Linked DNA regions of Homo sapiens: region 2 is linked to region 1. The links are contacts of gene promoters, found by promoter capture Hi-C in human tissues and cell types (Jung and others, 2019). All regions are on one chromosome and are shown on one strand. Each heading gives the region's core, a stretch centred on a gene start or on the middle of the fragment in contact. The rest is flanking DNA. Distances are from core to core; before and after follow the strand shown.

The links. Contacts are between HindIII fragments. The study calls those that stand out against the background at their distance.
Region 2: a fragment that was not itself captured here is called in contact with the fragment with the promoter of DAAM2 in region 1 in 1 of the 25 tissues and cell types used here (H1 embryonic stem cells).

The regions. Positions count from the first base shown.
Region 1 is chr6:39,790,944-39,793,643 of GRCh38, forward strand. It overlaps DAAM2 (dishevelled associated activator of morphogenesis 2), which reads left to right and starts at 1,433. Exons shown (of 25, transcript NM_001201427.2): 1 at 1,433-1,522. The HindIII fragment of the contact is 10,904 bases long and covers 1-2,700 here.
Region 2 is chr6:40,308,787-40,311,486 of GRCh38, forward strand. No RefSeq gene overlaps it. Among named protein-coding and RNA genes, the nearest start is that of LINC00951, 46 kb to the right of the region's middle. RefSeq lists an enhancer at 1-372. The HindIII fragment of the contact is 5,396 bases long and covers 1-2,700 here.

The sequences.
Region 1 (2,700 bases), core at 183-2,682:
GCCTCTACCGAGAGGCCCAGCCCTAAGACAGCTCCTTCTGGCAATCAGCTCTAACCAGCTGCTGCCAAAGAGGTAAACACATTCCAAGTCCTTGAGTCCCTGCTGCACTGTAACTGTGGTTAAAACACAACCCCGCCTCTACCAGTTTGGGCTAATGGAAAGTTCACTATAGTTGTGTTTTAATGATGATTTGCAATTATCCGTGCCCCCTCCCATTCATGGTGAGATGAATACCTAAACACTTATGTTGTCTAACCATATAAGTATTTTGCATCTCACGTGTATCATTTTAAGTTCATTTCATTCTCCAATCCTTGGGAACCATGAAGGATAACACATTACATTCTCTTTTTTTTTTTTTTTTCCTCTGGAAGATCATGCATTACATTCTCTTTTTTTCTCTGGAAGGGTGGCCCTTAAACCAAGCCATTTCCCTAAGCCCCTTTGGTGAGGTGGAGAAACAGACAACCACTAACACAGAACAACCACTGAACACCCAGAAAACTGTATACAGGTCATCACCCAGTGGGGGCACCATTTGCTTGCAGAGGGAGCTGGGGAAAATAGGAAACAGAGAAGATCAAATACTCCCCGTGAGGGTGTTGCCAATCCCAGAGAGGACAATTGCTCTTGACCAAAGCAATCTCTAGTTCAGTCAAGGAGACAGACCACAATCACATTTAAAAAAAAAAGAAAAAAAAAAACTAAAAGGAAATTTTAAAAGTATGAATAAGAGCTATTGTAAACTGCTCAAACTATGCATACAAGCAATGAAGTAAGATGAATTGACTGGCACTGAATTGGAAAAGCTATACAGAGGCAGGGAGTGTGGAACATAATTTAATAAAAATAAACTTAAAAAAATATATATACACTCCCAAAAAAGAAATGGAAAAGTTGTTAGGGCGTGGACCAGGACTCCTAATTAGCTGTTCTGTTGTGCCTGATTTCGCTCCTGTCTTGCCCAGCACCCCTTGGGACACACTGTCCAGTGCAGGGACACTTTGGGGAGGGACAGGGGATTCCTTGGCACCGGGACCTTCACCTCCGAGCCGGCCTCAGACCAGGCCATTTGCCCGTAGCCCAGAGGAGGAGCCGGGGAGAAACCCGCTGCCCAGGTGGCCACTTTTGCCTCTTTGACCCTTCCATGTTTCCAAAACAGAAGGGGCCCTGAGAACGCTCCCTGCCAAAGTGGGGAACAGCTACCCTCATTGTACGCCTCGCCCTGCCGGTGGCGCTCTCCCCCCGCCTGCGTTCGGTCTGAAAGTGTGAAAATTACAAATCCCAAGAAACTGCAATCAGAAGTCTACCTAGGGAAAATTCAGAGTAACCTTGCCATAAATATCCCGCTCCAAGACGCCTGACGTCAGAGCGGGGCGGGCGGACGGGCGCGAGGCCGGGCCTGGAGGGGCGGCAGCCGCGGCTTCCCGGGGATAGCGCGGAGCACGCAGCAGCGAGCGGAGCGCGGGCGGCGGCGCCGTACCTCGGGCTGCGGGAGCGCGGGCGCCCTGGGGTCCTCGGAGTAAGTGCGGCCGGCCCTGGCGCTCCCCGTCTTGGGGCCCGGGCCGCGGGGAGCCCTCTCCGCTGGGCTCCCACACTTCTCTCCCTCTGCTTTCTTTAGCATGCCCCGCGGGGCTTGGGGAGGCAGCAGCTCCGCAGGCTGGCGGTTTTGTTTCTCCAAAGTGTTTGCAGGAGCCGCCGACCCCGGAGTGGGCTCCCAGGGCCTGTGTGTGTGTGAGTTGTGTGTGTGTATGAGTGTGATTGCGTGTGTCTGTACTGGCACATCTGGACATAGGAAATGTCTTTGGAAAACTTTTTAAAAATGTTTTTTGCGGCTTTGAAACCTGACCCCTGGTTGTCACAAGTGGACAAACACAGAAGATACCCCGCAAAACTGACAACTTTTTGGTGGTGGCTTTTCCGGGTTCGGCTTGAACCTTCACTTGGCTGGGCTGAAGTCTTCACAAGCCCCCAGCTCCCACTTGCAGGCCTGGCCTCTGGCCAGTGGGCAGGGCAGCCGTAAGGTTCTTGTTCTCAGTGGCAGTGGGACCCTGGGCGGGGGAAGGAGCATCTCAGGAAAGGGGTCCCCGGACTCTGGGGCTCTCAGCACCTGCGGTCGCAAACCAACCTCATGCCCTGACTTTACCAGGCGTCGGGACTCTGACTTAACCGGGGAATGAGGGACTTGGTCTGGCGGCAGGTAATTTTGTGAAGAGGATGAGAAGGAAGAGGGGGAGGTGGTGGTGATGGCCAGGACGCTGTGGCCCTGTGTCCAGCCGTAGCTTGGGAGTGGGATGGTTGGTTCTGCCACATGGCCACGGTGAGGTACGTGCCAGGTTCTCCAGGAGTGCCGCGTGTGGTGCCCCAAACAAGATGCAAGCTCCTAACATAAAGAGACGTGTCTGAGCTGTGGGGTGGAGGAAGGGGGGCGGTGGGGGAGAGGGAGATTTTTATCAAAATTGAACACAGATTGCTGAGATCTGGGCTTGATTTAACTCTTCTCTCTCTGCCTCGGCCACTTCTCCACAGTTTTGGAGTGGATTTGGAACGTTTCTCGGAGGGTTAGAGGAAAATCACACCTCTCCGGAAAAGAGTCCCCATAGGTTTTCCCTTGATGCCCACGTGGGAATGAAAGCAGCTTCCCATCTTTAAAAAGTTCAAAGTCTTGTGTTTTCCCCCTTCTGAGTTTGGTGTTAGTTT
Region 2 (2,700 bases), core at 118-2,617, 520 kb after region 1:
GACGACTCTCAACCTTGACAGGATCTAGGGCTGGGGGCTTGAGATAGTCAACCAACGCCCAGCCCCTGGACGGGGTTAGAGTCACTCCTCCACCTCGTGGTCATTGTTGGAACTACACCCTGGGAAAGCCTGTCCTGAGAGGCACTTACTCCAAGGGATGATGGAGGAGGTTTGATGATGATGGTGATGGTGATGATGTGATGATAATGGTGATGATGTGATGATAATGATGATGGGTCATGAGTGTAATCACTTACCTCTTGCCACTTTCTGCTCACATCACCTCCTCAAAAGGGCTTTTCCCTGACCACCCTGTGTAAAATAGCACCACCACTCTCCTTAACCCTGCCTTATTTTTTGTAGCACTTATCATCTAAAATATTATTAGTTTGCTTATTTGTTGTTCGTGTAAGCTCCAGGAAAGCAGGAGCTGTGTTTTTTTTCACTGATGTATCCTGTGTAGCTAGGATTACCTCACAGTTAGCAAGTGTTCAATAAATATTTGTGAAGTGAAGGGGTTGGTAAATGACTCCTCAATCTCTCCCTGTGCCCAGCAGTCCTCCCAGCTCCTGGCAAGGCCACAGATCCCTCTCCCGCAGACTGAGTTTGCCTGTAATACTGGGAACAATCCCCATGCTCGTCTGGGAGATGTAAGGACCCTGTGTTAGTCTGTTTTGCATTACTAAAGGAACACCTGAAGCTTGGTAATTTATAAATAAAGGAGATTTATTTAGCTCATGGTTCTGCAGGCTGTACAAGAATGGCACAGGCATCTGCTCAGCTTCTGGTGAGGTCTCAGGAAGCTTTTACTCATGGCAGAAGGCAAAGGAGGAGCAGGTGTGTCACATGGAGAGAGAGGGAGCAAGACAGAGGGGAGGAGGTGCCAGCCTCCTTTTGACAACCAGCTCTTGGAGTGAACTAATAAAGTGGGAACTCATTCATTACTGCAAGGATGACACCAAGCCATTCATAATGGATCCTCCCCTATGACCCAAACACCTCCCACTAGGTCCCATCACTTTTCAACATGAGATTTGGAGGGGACACACATCCAAACTATATCAGACTCCAGGTCTCAAATCTGCTGGTTTGGCCCCCACCGGCCTGTGGTGGTCTTGCCCTTGGTGGTCAAGACCCTGCCCTTGGTCCTCGCCTTTAGCATCTGCATCCCATGGTGTCATTCCTTGCATCTGCGTCCTCCCTGCCTCATCCCAGTGTCCATGCATGTTGCCCTCCCACTGATTGCCAGGCCCTGGGCTGGGTGTTTTGTGTTCACTACCTCTGATCTTCATGGCACCCTGCAAGGTGGGCATTGATTATCCTCATTTTTAGATGAGAAATGAGTTCAGAGAGATGGCACAACTTTGCACATGTGATTTATGCCACCCCTGTGTTTTCCAGAGATGGTCCCAATGATGCTAATGGGTGAAACAAATAAAGAAAAATACACATAAAATAAAGTTTCCATGGTGAGAAATTTCAGAAAACACTGGGTTCAGCAAAGCAGAATTTTTTCTATCAGGACTTCTTAGACTCTTTAAAATGACCATGTGCATGGCAGCCCCCAGTGGGGAGGGGTATATGCAGGGCACAACATTTCCCAAACCTATCTGAATTTGGAACCACTTATCCAAGGAGCATCTCACAGGACATGGCTTGGATAACAAATGCAAAATCGGTTTCAATCCTCCTGGTCAGGAATTAAGATCAGTGGATCAAGATCGGTTTCAATCCTCCTGGTCAGGAATCAAGATCAGTGGATCAAGATTTGTTTCAATTCTCCTGGTCAGGAGTCAAGATCAGCGGATCAAGATCGATTTCAATCCTTCTGGTCAGGAATCAAGATCAGTGCATCAAGATTGGTTTCAATCCTTCTGGTCAGGAATCAAGATCAGTGGATCCAGATTGGTTTCAATCCTCCTGGTCAGGAGTCAAGATCAGTGGATCAAGATTTGTTTCAATCCTCCTGGTCAGGAGTCAAGATCAGCGGATCAAGATCGATTTCAATCCTTCTGGTCAGGAATCAAGATCAGTGCATCAAGATTGGTTTCAATCCTTCTGGTCAGGAATGCCAGGGGTGTAAGTGGGTGAAAGTCAGGCCACTCCTGCGTGTATCTTATTTGATCTCCGCAACAGCTCCATGAAGAAGGAATCCTTATCCTCACTTTCCAGATGGGGAAGCTGAGGCTCAGGAAACTAAAGTAATTTTTCTATGTTGCCCGTAAATATTTGAAGCTAGTGGAGTGTGACTATTCACCGGGTGCTCTTGAATGATGGCGAGAGGGAAAAGGATTAAGACAGTTCACCGGGAACCAGGAGACATGGTAGTAGACATGGGATCTACATGAAAGGAGTTCAGGGAGGAGGATGTGACTGTGTCCAGTCTCAGGGAGTCACCCCAGCCCTGACACACGATGACTGCCACCATAACTTCCACGCTCCTCGGTCCAAGTTCTCAGGATGCTCCTGCAGTTTTAATTAAACGCTGTGTATGGTGGCTCATTAAGGAGAAAACAGTTGTTCTGTATCTAAGTAGCCTCAGGTCTCTTCACCACTTTTACTGCTCAAACAACATCGCAGATAATTTTATAGTGTTTGGACTTGGTATTGCCTCTAAGCCTGGCAGGACCTCCAGGCCAGAGCTGTGTGGCAAATCACTCTGCTCCAAGGACACCGCCCTCATTTCAACAAGGATTCCTG